Regions from separate parts of the Homo sapiens genome. Here regions 2, 3, 4, 5 and 6 are each linked to region 1. The links are contacts of gene promoters, found by promoter capture Hi-C in blood cells and fetal thymus (Javierre and others, 2016). All regions are on one chromosome and are shown on one strand. The core of a region is centred on a gene start or on the middle of the fragment in contact, and the rest is flanking DNA. Distances in the headings are between cores, read along the strand shown.

Region 1 (3,222 bases), core at 361-2,860:
AGGCACTTAATCTTGAGCAACCCTTCCCACCTCTTTCCACGGAGTCTTTCCCAAATCACCTAATCAAAGCCCAAATCCTTTAAGTGCTTTCTAATACCATTTACCTAAGACACTTCATGGCTCCCCATAGTGCATGTTCTCCCTCCCTGAGTAATAATCCCAACTTCTTCAACTACAGTATTCCTGTAGGAGCATTGACAAAACTCTAAGGGCTTTACATATGCTATGTTATTTAGGCCTGAAAATGCCCCTCTTTCATAGGTATTAGTATAATTACCCCCCTTTTGTAGATGAAGCAGCAAAGAAAGTTAAACGTCATCTCCGGTATCAAATAGCTAGTAAATGGCAGGAATAAAATCTGTATCTGGGTCTGTCATCAAGATATAAGGAACTACTTGTAGTTCTCCTGACCTTGCTGTTCTCCTGTAAGTTTCCCTAAAGATTATGTGCTCTTTGAGGACAGAGCTGTAGAGTCTGGCACAGTAAAACAAATATTAAAAAAGAAAAGCTGTAGTGTGAAGACTTACTGAGAACTAAGGCTCATTTTTTGAACCTCTGTGCCAAACTCCTCAGAGTACCTAGAGTTGTTTCTTGTACCAAAATCAATACTGCATGTTTCCGAGTCTTGGCCTACACCACCTCCATATAATCAGAAGACAGATATCTTAAAGGAATAGTTCCAAGGAAAAGCTCATTTTTAAAGAGGGTATATTGATGTGTTGAGAAAACGGTGTTTGCCTTGTAGCTTGACCTTGGGTTTACACAACAAACTCTTTTGCATGGTTTCAGTTCAAGGCCCTTTGTTATGTGACCTTAAAGTTTCTTCACCTCTATGCTTTCTTGGCCTTGCTCCTGCCTGGAATGGAATGCCTTTTAAATGAATGCCCTGCCACTGTTTCCTGCCTAGTGAAAACCTATGCAGCTTTCCTTTTACCTTTCCAGATCCACTCCTTCAGATTTAATAACTTCCCTTTTTGTTCTCAAGGAACTTCTAAAACAACTGCTATAGACATTTACATTCCTTGGTTAATTGTGTTAGGGTTTGGAAACTACAGGAGACTGTGAGCTCCTGAAGGGCTCAGCCTAGCCTAGCTCTGTCTGATTTTGGGTGGACCCCTCTGCCACCCCAGAGCGAGCACTTAGGCAGGAAATATGTCCAGAAGGCTTCCTTTTGGAGCGTCGTGGGCCCCGTCGTTTCATCCTGCCTAGTACCCCTTCCAGCACCGTACCCAGTCCCAGAACTACTTTTTCCAGCCCCAGACGTGCAAGGAGAGGGCTAGCAGATGGTTTTATATCCCAGCGCTGCTCAAATGGTGGCGCAGGGCCTGTCTCGCCCACCTTCCAGTTCTGCTGGAACCCTATCTGCAAATCCAAAGAAATCCAGGCCGATGACTTCCTCCACGGTCCCCGGCGCTTCTCCAAATCTGACGCCACTCTGCGTCCTTAAGGTGAGCGGCCTGGACCGCCGGAAGGGTTGAGCGGCTGCATAGACAGGCCGCAAGGCCAATCATGTTTCGCAGTGCCCGGAAGGGGCGGTGCCTCAGCGTGTCATTGATCCGGCGGCGCGGGATTGGCCAGTCCCGGGCCAACACGGGTGGCGGGAGTTTTCAGATGTGTTGGCTGCGGCCCCGACTTCAGCGGTTGGGCTAGGCTGTGCTGACTGTTTGGGTGGCGGACCCCGGGAGTAAAACCTGTTGTCGATCCCTCAGCTTCCAGCTTGCGGCTTGCTGAGTGGCCACCTTCTTTCCGGTCCCCGGAGCTGCGGGGAAAGATGGAACGGCACCAGCCGCGGCTGCACCACCCGGCCCAAGGCTCAGCCGCTGGGACTCCCTACCCTTCCTCAGCCTCTCTCCGCGGCTGCCGGGAAAGCAAGATGCCGCGCAGGAAGGGCCCCCAACACCCTCCGCCGCCCAGTGGCCCCGAGGAGCCTGGGGAGAAGCGCCCCAAGTTTGTGAGTATCGCCTGGAGCTAGGGTGGGGCCGCTCCCGCCCCGCCGTAGGGCTGACTGCCGAGGGTGGGCCCACAAGAACTTGGGGACCAAGTTTTATTCTAGAGATCCAGAGGTGCCAAAGATCATAGATTGACAACGACCGGGTCTAGTTGTAGTTGGATCCTGTGACAAATGCCCAGATCTTTGTGTTGCCCCCAAATTTCTTAACGCTGATGTGAAAAGCAGTTCAAACGTGTATATGTATTGACGTCATCTAGGTGGACATTGCATTTTTTAAGTCGAAGTTCTCCCTTCCTCCCTAGTGTAAGAGGGTATAAGATATATCAAAATGAACTTTTAGGTGACAGGTTTTTTTTCTGCTTATTATTTTAATAAGAACTTTTAATTACATATAAGAACTTTTAAGGTAGATATAATTTTCCAAGTTGAAACAGCTAGTTTTAGAACTTGGCGGGTGGTGTGGTCACTGCTAAAGAATGTTTTGCTTAGCTTGGAAAGAATTCTAAATATTTGAAACTTGCTATTCTGGTTTGCTTGTGTTTAACACTTAAGGAAAGTGTCATGATTAACACCTTGTCTTTTCGTTGGTGTCAACTAGTGAAAGTATAGGCAGTGATGATTATTTTGGGGTTTGTGTGTGTAAATAAATCACATAGAGGGTTGATAGATTTGGGATGAGTCCAACAGAATTGAAATTTCACATTGACCACTCCACCATTTTCCTTAGGAATATGGAAAAACTGTGTGTGTGTGTGTGTGTGTGTGTGTGTGTGTGTGAGAGAGAGAGAGAGAGAGAGAGAGAGTACAGCATTTGCCTTATGTGGGCAAGTAAAAATTGTGAGAAATTTAAGTCATGATTCACAAATTAAGGGAATAATGGTTTGTGAACCAGTTGCTAACTATAACATTTAGTTAAAAATAATAGTTGAATAAGACTGAGAGCCCATATTCTGATACATGAGATATATCAGAATACTGAAAATGAGAAACAGCATAGATTAATTGAAAATGAGGAACAGCATAGATTAATTATGCCAAATTAAGTATCAAAATGGTCATAGGAATAGTGACATTTTGCAGAAGGATCAAGTATGGACTTGATCATTATCTTGACAAATCTGAAGAATGAATAGGACAGAGTTAACTTCCCAATGAAAGATTTTTGCCTAATGTGAGAAGAATCCACTAAGGCAATGACTTTTCTTCCTTTTATAGTCTACTCTCTGGGTTAATAATCTTATTTTATTTTGTTTTAACTTCTGTGGTCCAGA
Region 2 (3,222 bases), core at 542-3,041, 250 kb before region 1:
CTTAGAGAAACCTTAATTATTGAAAAGAGTCAGTGAAATCATAAAGTGGATCATTTTTGCCATGATTTGATATTGTACCATGTTAAATCTAAAATCAATACCTTATCAACTTCCAAAACACAATTTTTGAGCCATCCAACAAAGTTATTAATTCTTAAGCAAAGGGTATTTTAAAATGTCCAACATTAACACTAATAAACATTATTAACTGATTCTATTTTTAAATAGGGGAAGGAGACAAGTCAAGGACACTGACGGCCAACCAGAGTTCTCCCTTTCTTCACTTTTCCTTAAGAAAAAGATATATTGATGAAGTTTGTCTCTAAAGAATGTTTTTCCGTAAATTGTCTTTGCTTGAGCCTTGATCTCTTCACCTATCCTTGAAATAAAGGCCAGAACTATCTTTGTAAACTTGGCAAATCTGATCTTTTCATGGCTCTTATTTAAAACTCAATAAATCTCTGGACATGGTAGTTCCCGGAAGATCCATCAAGGCATCTGTACAAAGCTTGCCCATTTGAGAAAAGAAAGCAATTTTATTTGCATACATCTTACAATTTGATATTAATCATGTTTTACAGAAAAATTAATGTACTCTTCAAAATTCTCATATTCTTTAAGTGTGTGAATGAGTTATAAAGATTGCATTGGTCTGTTTAGTTAGCTAACATTGAGGGCCTAGTTTTCCCAATAATGGCATTTGCCTATTATTGCTTACATTTGTTAAATGAGTATGTTTGCTTATTACCAATATGTTAATTATAGTCCTGATACACCCAAGTGGTTGGCTGAAGCGTAAAGATTCTGATGAAATAGTAATGTAATCAGAATAATATAATCTGATAATAAAATAATAATATAATCAGAATAACATCAAAAATGAAAATTGTGCACTGGATCCCGGTTGATATGAATGTCCACAGAGTGGAATTGGTAATTCTCAAAGTTTCAGAACACAAATCTAAAAAGGAAAAATATGAATGAGAATGGCAATGAATATTGTAAAACAGGATCTCATTAGGCCCTTCATGCCTAGTTCCCTAAACACTGTTATAAAACATCAATCTTGGTCAAATCAACACATGAATTTTTTTTTCATAAGTTCAATTTCTTATATAAAATAATCAGTATGCTGATGACCAATCAGTTTAATTTAAATATGATTGGCTACCAAATATATTTTGATATCTAAGAACAAACTCCTCCTATATTTTACTCAAGACTGATGTGTTTTAACAGGTTTTTCAACCTCATATTCACCCTTTTCCCTCTGTTTAAGCAGTACTGATTTTATTTTTTAAAAACAAAAACAGAAAAAAAAAACCACTGTCTGTTGTCTAGGTATTCTACAGAATCCAAAAGTTGTCCAAGTGTGATAGGAATGCTCAATTGAAACCAATGAAGGATTTCTATCTGCCCTAGGATATAATGGAAAGTTCTATTAAAATTAGTAGACCATTTCAAAACACCTGATAACTCTGTATTTGACAAAAAGCCCCCACTGCAAGTACTGACACATTCCTATCAAATAGTTAGGATTTACTAATTTATGAGGCAGCCCTATTCATACTAGTCACTACAAATAAGGATAAGAACAAGGATTGTGGTTTTCTTGGCAAGTTATTTTTGACAAATTCTGGTACCAATAGCATATACTACTTGTTCCAACTTCAGTTTTTTCTAAGTAATAAAGAATTAATATATCTATTTTACTAATTACTTAGGGCAGAGATTGGCTAACTTTTCCTGTAAAGAACCAGATAGTAAATATTGCAGGCTTTCCTACAATATTTGATTTCTGTCACAACTACTCTTTGCTCCTGTAGCACAAAAGCAGCTACAGACAGTAGGTGTATGAGTGGTTCTGGCTGTGTTCTACTAAAATGTTATTTACAAAAACTGGTAGCAGGCCAGATTTGGCCCACTGGTCATAGTCTGCCAACTCCTTAGGATAAAGCTATATAATCTTTCTTTCTTCAAAAACTAGATGTAATAGACATGTCCTTCTCTCAAAAAAAATGTATCTGGACTTAAAAAAAAACGTACATTGTCTCACAAATTTACATATTGCACAACTGGTTCCACACATTTAATTTTTGAGGAGGGCAACACATTATTCTTTAAGTGAAATCCTTATTTATAAAAATATAAGGCAAATACTTAATAACAATGCAACATTTCAACAAGAATATGAAAATACCTCCCTTCAGCTGAGACTTAAGTTCATGTCCATATTAAGAGACTGAATATTGACAGTTTCCTCTCTCAAATTTCTATTCTTCCTGTACAAGTGAAATAATGTAATATTATGTGAAATATTCTACCTGTACCTTTTATCTTTAATTTGAGACACTAATATTTATAAGATTATAAAATGCTAATGGTATGATATATATATTTGAGATTAAAAATCCATAAGATATAAAGATTTTATCTTTATTGAAGTAACACTCTCACAGGCTATATAAGGTAATCTAAAATAGAGTAAAGGGCATCAACTTTTTCCAAAGGTGACACAAGATCAGAAATTCATGTGTGCAAGTAACATGAATGTATTTAACTGACAACACTAATTTAAGTGAGTCCAGTCTTGACATACAACAGCAAGAACATTAAGTATTTACTGGGCATTCAGCATATGCCAAGCAGTATTCTAAGCACTTTGTGTGTATTAACTTATTAATCCTCCTAACAATACTATGAAGTAGGTATAATATTGACACCATTTTATAGATAAGCAAACTGAGACATGAGCAGTTAAGAAATGTGCCCAAGGTTATAGCTAATCTGTGGCAGAACCAGGACTGATCTCAGCTCAGGAGAATTGGTCTTCAAGAGCCCATGCTCGTAAACACCAGCCATACAGCTTCTCAAGCAGATATATATCTAACTGAATATAAAAGGTACATGGCAGTGTTTTTGTAACTATTTTTTTCCTCAGTAATCTCTCACAATAATTCAGTTTTGTGATGAAATTCTAATTAATTATAATTAACTAATTCTAATATAAATGTTTATTCAAAATCATTTAATTTACACATCTCAGTTTCAAACACAAAGTGATTCAAGCTTTTGGGCCCATTCCTTGGCAGCATTTTCACATGCTAACTTCCTGTTGACCTATTAGTTCATATATATTGGGTACTTAGGCAAAAAAAAAAAAAATTGGGAGTACAGGGATACTGCAGGGAATACCAGGCAGGCCGTAACAGCAAAAAGCAA
Region 3 (3,222 bases), core at 198-2,697, 240 kb after region 1:
CTTTGATCTAAACCCATCTCTTTTCTACAATGCAGGCCTGCCAAGATCCCCATGGATAGTATGGCGGCATTGGTGTATTGTCTAGTATTCAATTCTCTATTTCTGGGCACTGCTGATTGCACATCTCTGCCCCTGTCAAGTTAGGAGTCACCAAGTGACATGCTTGGACCAGTGAAGATGGGAGTGGAGTTAATGTCACTTTTTGGGGTGGAAGCATTTCATTGGTGGTTGAAGAAGCTCCCCCTGGCACCCAGAATGGCATTCAGAGTGGTGTCCATCATCCTGATATAGGGATCATAATTAATAATTAACAGAAACTGGTGTGATGAACATATGGTCTTCATGAGAAATAATTTGTGTGTGTTTGCTTAGACCACAGAGATTTTGTGTTTTTTGTTTTTTGCATGATGTACATATTTTAGGGAATTTCCCTCCCAAAAGAACTTTGTCTAGGTTCAAAGCACTGTGTTTTGAACTATGTCAGATAATGTCAGAAAGTTCCGTATCTGTGATCTAAAAGAGATGATTTTATTTTGAAAAATGTTCATGACCTGCATTACAAATTACTAGTGTTGATTCTAAATAGTCTTGTAATAGTTCCCGAAGAAATATAATGTTTAATAGAATTCTTTCTGAATGGGTCAGCTGTGGTAAGTTAGCCTAAATGTCCATCTCATAGTTAAATAACTTTTTGAACACGGTTATTTATTTATGTATTACAGAACATGTTCTACATGGGATTTCAAATTTAATTAAAACAGCTAATAAATACTGATTACCTTTGTTTACTAGTTCTGTATTTGGCCCTTTAATCTTCACTACAACCCCACCAGGTGGGTATTAGCATTAACAGTATAGGTAGGGAATCTGGTGGGTGTAGCAGTTAAGTGATTTCAATAAGATTGCTCATTTTGAAAATATTTTAATGTTTATATAGTTTAATGTATATCTGTTCCTTTTTACAGAAAACAGAATAACATTTTTATGGAGAAAGATCCTGTTTGCCTTGTTTAATTTAGCTAGAGTATATATATCCTATTCATTTAATTGAGAAACATGTTTTAAAGTGTAAGATGAAAAGATACAGAATTTATACCATGTCATATTATGATGTAATCCATTTTAAGATTATTCTTCTCCTCTCTGATGGTAGCAGGCATTATGATTTAAGCTTTAAGAAGCTTTAGCAGCCTATGATCTTCATTGTAATTATAGTTTTTTGTCATGAAATTTAGAGTTTTGAGAGTCTGAATTCTGAGATGAGTCTTAGAACTGTTTTGGAATGAGATAAATTGAAATAAAACAGTGGTCAGTAGTAGAATACTGATACTAAAATGGAAAGGTTCATTTCTAAAGTTCATTGAAGAGAATATTATGGGTATGTACTAGATTAGAACTTTGGAGAAAGAATCTAAAAGTCATTCATTTATCTACTTGTCTATTTAAAAGTGGTTTTGGTTTCCTATATTTTTGAGTTCATAAAGGTTTCCAGACACTAGGATCAAGAGAAGGCTTAGGAGTTTTATAAGTTTCATTTGTTTATGATTTTTTATATTTAAGGTTGTTTTCTGCAAGCAAGTACAGCTTAACTTATTTCTGCCTATTTTTTTTCTCTTACCTAATTGCCCTGGCTAGGACTTCAAGTAATATGTTGAATAGAAGTGGTGAAAGTGGAGATCCTTATCTTCTTCCAGATTTTATAGGAAAAGCTTTCAACTTTTCTGTTTGTTATGATGATAGCTGTATGTTTGTCATATATAACGCATATATTTATTGTGTTGTGACACATTTCTTCTATACCTAATTTGTTAAAATTCTTTATCATAAAAGAATGATGAATTCTGTCAAATTATTTTTCTATCTATTGAAATGATTATATGGTTTTGTCTTCCATGCTGTTAATAGGGTGTGTCACATTTACTGATTTGCATGTTTTGAACCATCCTTGCATCTCTGGAATGAATCCCATTTAATCATGGTGAATGATCTTTTTCATGTATTGAATTCATTTTGTTGAGAATTTTTGCTTCAGGGTTATTGACAAGTAGCTTTCCTTTGTTGCATTCTTGCAGGTTTTGGTTTCAGGGGAATGCCAGCCTTGTGGAGTGAGTTTGGCAGTATTCTCTACTCTTTGATTTTTTTTGAATAGTGTGATAAGAATTGGTAATAGTTTTTACTTACATGTTTGATAGAATTAAGCAGCAAATGTATTAGATCCTCAGCTTTTCTTTGGTGGGAAACTACTTATTACTAATTTCAGTTTCCTTACTGGTTATTGGTTTATTCAGGTATTGTATTGTTTTATAATTCAATCTTGGTAAGTTATAAGTTTCTAGGATTTTATCCATTTTTTTTCTAGGTTATCCAATTTATTGATGTATAAGAAATTATTCAAAATAGTCTCATATAATTCTTTTTTTATTTTTGTGGTGTCAGTTGTAATATCTTTTCATTTATGACTATATTTATTTGAGTTTTCTTAGTCTAAATAAACATTTGATTATTTTATTTTTTCCAAAAATGAAATTTTTGGTTGTTTTTTCTTTCTTTTTTTTTTTTGGTATTTTCTGGTCTCCATTTCATTTATTTCTGCTTGGATCTTTAATATTTTCTTGCTTCTACTAATTTTGGGTTGAGTTTGTCTTGTTTTTCTAATTCCTCCAGGTGCAATGTTAGGTTGTTTGAGATTTTTTTTTTTTTAGTGTAGACATTTATTTCTGTAAACTTCTCACTTAGATCTGCTTTTGCTATATCCCATATATTTTGGTATGTTGTGTTTCCCTTTTCAATTTTCTAAATACATTTTTATATTGAAGACTTTTAATTTCTTCATTGACCCATTGGTTATTTAGAAGCATGTTGTTTAGTTTTCATGCATTTGAAAAGTTTTTGAATTTTCTTCTGTACTGATTTCTAGTTTTATTCCATTGTGGTCAGAAAATATACTTGATATGATTCTAGTCTCCTTAAATTTGTTAAGACATGTTTTGTGGCATAACATATGATCTGTCCTGGAGAATGTTCCATGTGCAGTTGAGAGAAGGATGTTTATTCTGATTTTGTTATATGAAATGTTCTGTAAATATCTGTTAGGTCCTTTTGGCCTAGAGTTCATTTTCTAGTTCATGTTTGTTGATTTTCTGTCTAGATGACTGTTTTATTGCTGAAAATGAGGCATTGAAGTCTCCTAATATTGTATTGCAATGTATGTCTCCCTGTAGA
Region 4 (3,222 bases), core at 182-2,681, 230 kb after region 1:
TATTGCTTATTTTATATTCTTTGGAGTTTTTGTTGGGGCTTGAAGGATTATAAACCATCCAGGGATTTCTGAATCCTGACTTGGCTTAGCTCTCCATTTTTCCTGTGGGATTCCTTAGTGATACACACACACACACACACACACACACACACACACACGCCTCATTCTCCCTGTAGATACATATACATATGTATTGTTTAACTAGAAAATAAAAGGTGACTTTGCCTTAGTCAATATAAGTCAATATGTATATACAGGGATCCACAACAAACCTAGATAAAGAGCCATTTCATTGTTAACTTGGCTTTTGTCTGAATATTCCAAATACATCTCCCTGGTCTCTGGTCCTGGGTAAATGGTTTGAGGCTTTTAAGCATAAGGATGGCTTGGGTTTCCTTTCCAGAATCTAATTCTATACATTATCCATGTGCCACCTGTCTTTATGCGACAAAGAACAAGAAGCTGAAGAGAGTCAGTTTCTGTGTAGGAAAAGATGAAGATCTTCCTTTCATGTAAAAGTCTGCCCTGGCTTTATCACTATGCACCTTTAATGACGGAGTAATTGATATGGGCTACTATAAGCTTAGAAATCTGAGAGCTGGGTATTCAAGGAAATAGAAATGCGATTAGGTTCTTGAAACACTGAATTGCCCAAGAATGAAATTCTTTGTACAATTTGGAGAGGTAATCTGGGTGAGAGGTAGAAGAGAAATCGTTATTTTGTAACAGCATTATCTATATCATTATATAAATAGTCAAACCAATGTATAAGTTTGAGGTGTGCAGTGAATAAGGACCAACTCTGCCTTTGAACACCTCTTGGGAAAGAACGTATACATTTTAAATGATCCCAGTTTGGTCTGATTAATTTTACAGCCACTTAGATTTTTGTTCTTCATTTGACAAAGCAAAATTTTAACTACATGATTCCTACATAAATTTTCAAATCAAGAGGTCAAATTAAAATGAGTGATTTGAAATCAAGCCTCATAAAGAAATTTTTTTCTATTTTTAAATGTTGTGGTTAAGAATACATAACAAAATTTTACCGTTTTAACCATGTTTAACTGTACAGTTCTGTGGCATTAGCAACACTAACGTTGTGCATCCATCAGTACCATCCGTCTTTAGAACTTATCTTCTCCAGCTGATACTCTGTACCCATTAAACACTAACTCCCCATTCTCTACTCTCTCAGGAAGATTATTTTTAAAAATATCATTTTCTAATCACAATATAAAATGAATCCTGCTAGTCTTCCTTTAACCTCACCTCCTTATACTACTAGGGAAGTGTATATGGAACATTTGGGTTGCAGTTAGATGGTACAGTGGAAAAGAGGTCTGTATGTGAGCTGGGCATTTTATTAATTTTTTTTTTTTTTCCAAACAAGGTCTGCCTCTGTTGCCCAGGCTAGAATGCAGTGGCATGATCTTAGCTCACTGCAGCCTCAAACTCCTGGGCACAAGTGATCCTCCCACTTCATCCTCCTGAGTAGCTAGCACTACAGGTACATACCACTATGCCCAGCTAATTTTTACGTTTTTTGTGGAGATGAGTACTCATTTTGTTGCCCAGGCTGGTCTTGAAATCCTGGCCTCAAGCAATACTCCAGCCTTGGCCTCCCAAAGTGCTGAGATTACAGGCCTGTGCCACTGCAAGCCGGGTGTTATAAATAGCTATATAGGATGTACACAACACAAGCTCCAGCCAGAAGGTAAGATAACATAGAACTACAAATTTTAACAGCCCAGATTAATAAAAATTCCAAATTCAGGAGATTGTGGGGACAGAAACTAGCACAGAATAGTTTATTCTAGAACACAGATCAGGCAAATAATGGAACTCCAATTAGCTAGACCAATTGGAGACCAGAATGATCTGGAATGCTAACTGGGGCATTATTCTTAGAGCACAGAGAAATAAAGATTTAATAACTGAGAAACTGGGCAAGTGACTTGAATTCCCAACTGAGCTATCAAAAACAAGAACGTAAAAGCAGAGAGAGAGAGACAGGATAACTACGTATCAGAAAGTCCAGATAATAAAAGTTGAGTTCAGTTGAACAAATACCTAGGTATTGTCTCTACCTTCTCCTCCTCTTTTCTACCCTGGCACACCCACACTCCATTCCCCACACAATAAAGCATTTTCTTTCTTTTTTTGCTTCCCGTCCCCTCCCCTGCCTCCCCACCTCCCAAAACAAGATCACAAAATTATAGGCATGCTGTCATCAAATATAGAAGTAAGTTTATTGTAAAATTCTACTACTTAAGCTTGACCATTTTGCTGTCAGTCAATTCTTTTTCAGTATTTTGGAATAATGGTCATTTTTGTGTCAGATCACTTCTCTTCTATCAAGTTTTGGATAATCACTCTGGCTGTTTTGATGATTGTGTTCTGTTTTCCCCAGGAATATGCCAGGATGGTCTGCCTATGATTTAATGTGGCATTGCTTTTTATCTGTTTGTTAATATAATGTATTGTTACTTCTTCTAGTCTCAAGTTGCTTAGCATTGTGTGTACAAATACTAGTAAGCTGGTTTATCAACTCTTTCCATTCGACACCATGCTAGAGATCCTGAATTACCTGTGTTATCATTTGGATTTAGTTCTTCTAAATTAGGAATGTACACTGAGTTCTCACTCATGACTTTTCTCCTCTCTTGTACTTTCTTTTGTATATGTCTTCGTATGTCATACATTAACTTTCAGAGTTGGTTTTGTAATTTATTCTAGCAGAGATATATTTCTACCATCAGAGAACATATGAGAGAATGTTATACGTAAAAATAGTGGAAAAATTATTATTATTATGTTTTTTTTTTTTTGAGATGGAGTCTTGCTCTGTTGCCCAGGCTGGAGTGCAGTGGTGCAATCTCAGCTCACTGCAAGCTCTGCCTCCCGGTTTCAAGCCATTCTCCTGCCTCAGCCTCCCGAGTAGCTGCGACAACAGGAACCCGCCACCACGCCCAGCTAATTTTTTGTATTTTTAGTAGAGATGGGGTTTCACCATGTTAGCCAGGATGGTCTCGATCTCCTGACCTCATGATCCGCCCACCTCAGCCTCCCAAAGTGCTGGGATTATAGGCGTGAGCCACCGTGCCCAGCTGGACAAATTAATTTTTATGAATATACATGTATGATTCCATGACTGGGAAACACCAACATTCAAGAAGAATTCACAGGGGCCAGATACTAGAAGTATTTCTTATGGTGGTG
Region 5 (3,222 bases), core at 396-2,895, 190 kb after region 1:
TTTTTAATTATTTAACGGTAAGAGGGGTTTGTAGGAGCCGTAGTAGTTGTGGGGAATGGTAGTGTTGCTGTGGCTTACGTCAACTGAAGGACATTTGGACAGTTTTTACCTATTAGTTTTTGTTATTTTAATAAAGGAACACAGGTTGAGACTGAGAGAATCAGTAGTCTGAAATTTACCTTCCTTCCCTGTAAAATGGGAATTAAAGCAGTATTTCTTATTTCACAGAGTTTTTGTAATGAAATTTAAGAATGCTTCTTTTTATGCTTCAAAAGCTATAAAGTATGGGGAGAGAGAATGCATGTGTAGGGTTGGGGGTATGTGGAAAATCTCTATTTTCTGCTCAGTTTTGCCGTGAACCTAAAACTGCTCCAAAAAATAGTCTGTTAAGTAAAACCGTAAAGCATTATCTAAACGTTAATTGCAGGGAGGTGGCATAGTTTCATTTGAACTTAGACTCTGAAGGCGGGGAATCTGGCTTTTTAATCTCACATCTTTTACTAGCTATGAGGGACTAGCAACTGCCTCTTAGTGTTATTAAGGACAAAGTAAGATTCCCTTTATAAACTAAGTAAAAATAAAATCCCTTTGTAAACGGTGGAGTTCTACATTGTTGTTATTTTCCTAATTAAGGTTTGAGTGTATTTAAAATGTGGAGGCCACATTTGTGAGATAGTTGCATTTTTTTGATTGATTTTTTTTTTCATTTTTCTTAAGAAAGTCAAATGCTTGTGTTTGTGAGCAAAAAGGAGGTTTTTAGTCATAATAATGGCAAAGTTGAATGTGTTTGAATGCAAGATGAGAACTGGTGATGAGTGGATATATAAATTATTATAGAAAATTCACTGGATTCACCAAATTTTATTGTTTCCTTTTTTTTCCAGAAGGTATTTCACTAGGGACTTTGAAAAATTAATTTATCATTACTTTCCCAAAGATATCAGGAGATATTATGTTGTTACAAGAAAAAAAGTTAGAAACTGAATAGAATGGAGTTGTTTAGTAATAAAAAATATTAAAATGAAATCCTCTAAATCATGTTGATATACTTCAGATAAGTTTCAAGAATAAGTTTTTGCAGGTGGAAGATGCAAGGAATTTGTACAATGCTTTGCTCTCTATTATTTTACACAAAGTCACAATAATATTTAGAGACTTTGAAGAAAAATGCCAATGCTGCAGATAACTGTGGCCAGTTTGCTCTGCAGAGAGAAGGTCACAGACTTGTCTATGGCTTTTTTCTGCCCCCTTGTGAATGAACGATTTTGGTTGGGACCTGGAGGGGCCTAGAGAAAGACTGTAAGTGACTTTTCAAAACTCTATCACTCCTTTCATAAAACCAATTCAGGAATTTGTGTTCTACCGGCAGATCATTCGAGTCACATTTCTATAAGAAGAATAGTGCTTTTCATTTTCATCTTCCTGTTTTTGTTATTATTTTTAATTTGTTTCAGTTTGAAAAAGAGTTTACCGACCACCAAGAAACTCAGGCTGAATTGCAGAAAAAAGAGGCAAAGATTAATGAGCTTCAAGCAGAGCTACAAGCTTTTAAGTCTCAGGTAAAATTCCACTCTGAGTGAATTTGGGTATTAAAAACACAGTGAGGGAGCAAAGGTTATGTTATATCTTCATAGCATCAAAATGTTTAAACTTTAATTTTGCTTGTATATTTTTATAGCATTATTTGTACTGTGTTTTGCTATTTTTTTGTCATTTTTTTCTATATGTATGTATATCTAAGCTTTTACTAATTAATCTGCTTTCTTATGTTTTGTTAGGGTTTTGTTCCTAATGTCACATGTTTCCTAAGTAATTCAGCATAAAGAGTAAGAAAATCTTTTACTCTCAGATTTGTTATTCATCACTGATCTTTATCCCACTACAAGAAATTATTGCTCAAGCTATTTATTTTTTAAAACCTTCAGCCTAGGGGTCCCTTGCAGTAAAAGATAACCTCTAGCTGAATGAGAACATTTTCTGATAATTTTTCAATTTCCAAAGTAAACAGATTTAAAACATGACAAAAAAGAGAGTAAATCTGGATTATGAAGCAGATAGCTCCCATGCACCCTCTACACATAAAACATTTAGATAGCAAGAAATACGTCATCTGCATGCTTTATGTGGATGTAAGTAAGGAGGTAGAATATTCATAGCTAAATTTCTTCATGTAGATTTACGTACAGGATGATGAGCAATAAGTATAGTTTTGCTATTTTCCTTTCATCTTAATTTACAGTTATGTTGAAATAGTCTCAGGTATACTATATCCTATCTTACTGGCAATTTTGTTTTCTTTTAAATGCTTAGTGGATAGTTTTGTTGCTGAGGCTGTCTGGAGATACCTTAAGAGATAGCTATCTGTTAGTATTCAATTTTAGAAAAAAATTAAAATCTCCTATCTACAAGAAAATTATTCTCATTCATCTTCTTTCTTTAGTGCTGCAAGAGGGAAGTATCACATTTTATTGAATTTTTTTTTTTATCTTTCCCATATGGTTCCTTGTCTCTCATATTGAAAGAAACATTTGATTGTGTCTGTACTTCAGACTGAGTTACAGACAGTGGCTGAAATATTTATAACAAGTTTTTCTTGGTCTGGGGTAACGTAAATTTAAGAACTTTCTTTTCTTTTTAATTATGTTCAGTTGAAGGTTTGTTTGTAAATCTCCAGAAAATTCCAGTTTATAAAAAACGTATCCACCATTTTTGAATAAGTTATTGCTGCATAGTGCTTTTACATAAAATGGGAATAAGTGTATGTTTTGAAAGTGAAATTAAATCAAGGAATCTCCTAAATTGTTTTAAATTGTATACAGTGATGACCCATGTTTATGGCTATGAGAAGAAAACCTAGAATTAGATACTTAATATTGGCCACCATATTCATGTTTGAACAACTGGCAAATTCTTTCTTTGGATTCTGGTTTATTTCTTATGAAATGTGGGCATTTATCTTAAGATCCTTCTTTTTGTTCAAAGCTATGCTGACTATGAAGAGTATGAATAAAATATGTTCTGTTATCTGTGATTTAATTCCTTTGCTCCCGTAGTCTCTTCACAACCAGGTAGTTTAGGTGCTGGAGAGACATAGTGATGAGCAAGATAGTCACAGTGTCTGGCCTCCCAAACCATATCTTTAAGTCAGTCTTCACACTTTATCAAATGAACTATTCTAGAGCAGAAATTCAGCCATATCTTTAAGACATTGATAGTTAATTA
Region 6 (3,222 bases), core at 283-2,782, 150 kb before region 1:
TGTTCCTCTATAGACACTGTAATAACTCTTTGGCCCCCTTGACATGTTTAAGTGACCACTTTCTTTTTTAAAGAAAGGTGAGAGGAGGCTTGATTTCCTAAGAAAAGCAGTCACTCTGTGTTCACCCTGAATTAGATAATATAATTGAGACTTATATAAAAGTGTTTGTGTTTCTAAGTCTTTCAAAAACAAAAAGTGTTTGTGTTTCAAAGTCTTTCAAAAACATTCTGAAATAATAATTCTGAATAATTCCTTAGAATTCTTTTAGAGTTCTAAATTACATTTCTTTTACTTATTTATTTTTATTGATGTATAATTATTGTACATATTTTGGGGGTACATGTGATATTCAGATTTCTGTATACAATGTGCAATGATCAAATCAGGGTACTGGGATATCCATCACCTCAAAGATGTATCTTTTACCTGTGCTGGAAACATTACAAATCTTTTCTTCTAGCTGTTTTGACATACACAACAAGTTATGTTTAACTTTAATTTTCGTACTATACTATCATTCCTTTCTTTTCCTTTTTTTTTTTTTTTTTTGAGATGGAGTCTCACTCTATCACCCAGGCTAGAGTGCAGTGGCGCAATCTTGGCTCACTGCAACTTCCACCTCCCAGGTTCAAGCAATTCTCCTGCCTCAGCCTCCTGAGTAGCTGGGATTACAGGCGCACATCACCACATCCAGTTAATTTTTGTATTTAAGTAGAGATGGGGTTCCACCAAGTTGGCCAGGCTGGTCTCAAACTCCTGACTTCAGGTGATCCACCTACCTCGGCCTCACAAAGTGCTGGGATTACAGTGTGAGTCACTGCGCCCAGTCTCCTACTGTACTATTAAACACTGGAACTTATTTCTTCTATCCAATTGTATTGTTGTACTCCTTAAGTAGCTTTTCTTCACCCTCCCAACCCTTCCCTTCCCAGCCTCTGGTAACCATCATTCTACTCTCTACCTTCATGAGATCCACTTTTTTAGCTCCTGTATATGAGTGAGATGAGAATTTACAATATTTATCTTTCTGTGCTGATATAGTTTGGATGTTTGTCCCTCCAAATATCATGTTGAACTGCAACCCCAATGTCGGGGGTGGGGCATGGGTAAGAGGTGTTTAGATTCTGGGGGAAGATCCTTCATGAACGGTTTGGTGCTGTTCTCACGGTAATGAGTGTGTTCTTGCTCTGAGTTCATGTGGTGATTGTTTAAAAGAGCATGGCACTTCTTGCCTCTCTCCCGCTCCCTTTCCCACCATGTGATACATCTGCTCCCCCTTCACCTTCTGCCATGATTGAAAACTTCCTGAGGCCTCATCAGGAGCAGGTGCTGGCACCATGCTTCCTGTACAACCTGCAGAACTGTGAATCAAATTAAACCCCTTTTCTTTATAAATTACCCCGCCTCAGGTATTTCTTTATAGCAATGCAAGAATGGCCTAACACGTGTACCTAGCTTATTTAACTGACCATTTCCGACTATTCATCATTTCTCTTCTGTTTTCATGTCTTTGCTTCCCAGTCTAGAGTTCCTGGTCCAGCACTTCCATGCAACCATCCTCAATGAACTTTCCCCTCTTCTCTTACATCATATTCACCTGTCAAAACTCCAACCTCTTTGAACACATATCTGTACCAAAGTTGCTAACCTTTGCTAGGAAAATGATACATAGGACCCATGGGGTGACTGGTTGCATCAAAATTCATGATCATAAACCCCAAATGAACATCCAACAGTGCCCAACTATCCTGCTCATTCATTTCTAGTGGGTTTGTTTTGCTTTCCCACTCTCTGAAATTGCTTTTTTTTTTTTTTTTTTTTTTTTTAGAACAGAGTCTCAACCTGTAGCCCAGGCTAGAGTGTAGTGGCACGATCTCAGCTCATTGCAACCTCCAGCACCCAGGATCAAGCAATCCTCCTGCCTCAGGCTCCCAAATAGCTGGGATTACAAGCATGCACCACCATACCCAGCTAATTTTTGTATTAGTGGAGATGGAGTTTCACCGTGTTGGCTTGAACTCCTGACCTCAAGTCATCTACCCGCCTTGGCCTCCCAAAGTGCTGGGATTACAGTTATGAACCACTGGGCCCAGCCTGAAATCACTCTTTCACAAGTCTTACTTCCCACATTTTCTTATTTCCTCACTCCAGCTGATGACCTTTCCTTGCTGTTGATTGATGGAATAGAATTAAGAACTCTCTTATTCCTGCTACCAAATAGAAAAACCTACCTATTTTTCAGGTTCTCCTGTGTTACTTCTTCCTCTTGTTACCGCCCCCTTCTTGTGACTTGAATACCATCTCCCCTCTCAAGGACTTCATTCATCTGATTATTTCCTCTCTCCAGTATCATCTGTTTCTCTCTGTCTATTGGCTCATCTGATCAGTACAACAGATAGGCTGTGTTTTGTCCTATTTAAAACAACAACCTTCCTTTGCCTCACATTTCCTACCAGGTTTTTCCTTATTTCTCTTTTGTTTTTCGCTGCAAGGTGTCCCCTAACTGGTTCTATACTTACTGTTTTCACTTCTTCACTCCCATTCTCTCTTCCAATAACTTCAGCCTGGTTTCTGCCTCCACCATTCCAACGAAATGCTCCTCTCAAGGTCACTAATGACCCCCAGGTCGCCAAATAAAATGGGCACTTTTTTGTCCTCATTCTGAACTTTTAGCAATTTTTGCCAAACTCGATAACTTTCTGTTTCTAGAAATTCTTCCCGCTCCAGGGGTTCTCTTCTACTCCCTCAGAACCCTTTGCTGGTTCCTTCTTCTCTTTCTTCCACCCCAAATATTGGAGGGCTCCTGTACTCCCTCCTTTTCCCTTGTTTCATCTACAAGCCACCTCCCTCCCTCCGAAGGCAACCTCCTCCTCCTCCATGGCTTTGAGCATCACCACTATACTGCTTACTCTCAAATGTAATCTTGGGCACTCTCCTCTTTCCCCTGAGCTCCAGACTCATACATCCAACTGCCTATATGTCTCCACTTCAATGTCTAGTGTGCATCTAAAAATGGAATTGCCCAAAGCATTCCCTACCCCTCAAAACTGTCTGTCTGCCAGGCTTCACAGTTTGAATAATGGAACCACTATGTACCCAGATGCTCAAGTCAAAAATCTAAGTGATATTTTGCTTCATCTCATTCCCTCCTTCTCACTCCAACACATTAGAATATATCCAGAATATGCCCATTTCTTTTGTTTTTGAGATAGTGTCTCACGC

Evidence for each region. Contacts are between HindIII fragments. The CHiCAGO score rates a contact against its expected background, and 5 or more counts as called.
Region 2: a fragment that was not itself captured here is called in contact with the fragment with the promoter of DIAPH3 in region 1 in 7 of 17 cell types (non-activated CD4 T cells, monocytes, naive CD4 T cells and 4 more); the score reaches 7.5 in non-activated CD4 T cells.
Region 3: a contact is called between a fragment that was not itself captured here and the fragment with the promoter of DIAPH3 in region 1, in 1 of 17 cell types (M0 macrophages). The highest score is 5.1, in M0 macrophages.
Region 4: a contact is called between a fragment that was not itself captured here and the fragment with the promoter of DIAPH3 in region 1, in 1 of 17 cell types (M0 macrophages). The highest score is 5.3, in M0 macrophages.
Region 5: a contact is called between a fragment that was not itself captured here and the fragment with the promoter of DIAPH3 in region 1, in 1 of 17 cell types (M0 macrophages). The highest score is 6.6, in M0 macrophages.
Region 6: a fragment that was not itself captured here is called in contact with the fragment with the promoter of DIAPH3 in region 1 in 1 of 17 cell types (erythroblasts); the score reaches 5.3 in erythroblasts.

Annotation. Positions count from the first base shown.
Region 1 is chr13:60,162,316-60,165,537 of GRCh38, reverse strand. It overlaps DIAPH3 (diaphanous related formin 3), which reads left to right and starts at 1,610. Exons shown (of 28, transcript NM_001042517.2): 1 at 1,610-1,951. The coding sequence starts at 1,772. LOC105370227 (a long non-coding RNA gene) reads right to left here and starts at 1,481. Exons shown (of 2, transcript XR_942001.2): 1 at 1,339-1,481. RefSeq lists enhancers at 1-83, 1,172-1,221. The HindIII fragment of the contact is 7,568 bases long and covers 1-3,222 here.
Region 2 is chr13:60,412,988-60,416,209 of GRCh38, reverse strand. The region is part of intron 1 of TDRD3 (tudor domain containing 3); the gene reads right to left. Among named protein-coding and RNA genes, the nearest start is that of TDRD3, 17 kb to the right of the region's middle. The HindIII fragment of the contact is 2,561 bases long and covers 511-3,071 here.
Region 3 is chr13:59,920,612-59,923,833 of GRCh38, reverse strand. The region is part of intron 18 of DIAPH3 (diaphanous related formin 3); the gene reads left to right. Among named protein-coding and RNA genes, the nearest start is that of DIAPH3-AS1, 90 kb to the left of the region's middle. The HindIII fragment of the contact is 528 bases long and covers 1,184-1,711 here.
Region 4 is chr13:59,936,772-59,939,993 of GRCh38, reverse strand. The region is part of intron 17 of DIAPH3 (diaphanous related formin 3); the gene reads left to right. Among named protein-coding and RNA genes, the nearest start is that of DIAPH3-AS1, 74 kb to the left of the region's middle. The HindIII fragment of the contact is 1,694 bases long and covers 585-2,278 here.
Region 5 is chr13:59,972,689-59,975,910 of GRCh38, reverse strand. DIAPH3 (diaphanous related formin 3) reads left to right here. Exons shown (of 28, transcript NM_001042517.2): 15 at 1,455-1,559. Among named protein-coding and RNA genes, the nearest start is that of DIAPH3-AS1, 38 kb to the left of the region's middle. The HindIII fragment of the contact is 196 bases long and covers 1,548-1,743 here.
Region 6 is chr13:60,313,843-60,317,064 of GRCh38, reverse strand. No RefSeq gene overlaps it. Among named protein-coding and RNA genes, the nearest start is that of LINC00434, 47 kb to the right of the region's middle. The HindIII fragment of the contact is 5,772 bases long and covers 1-3,222 here.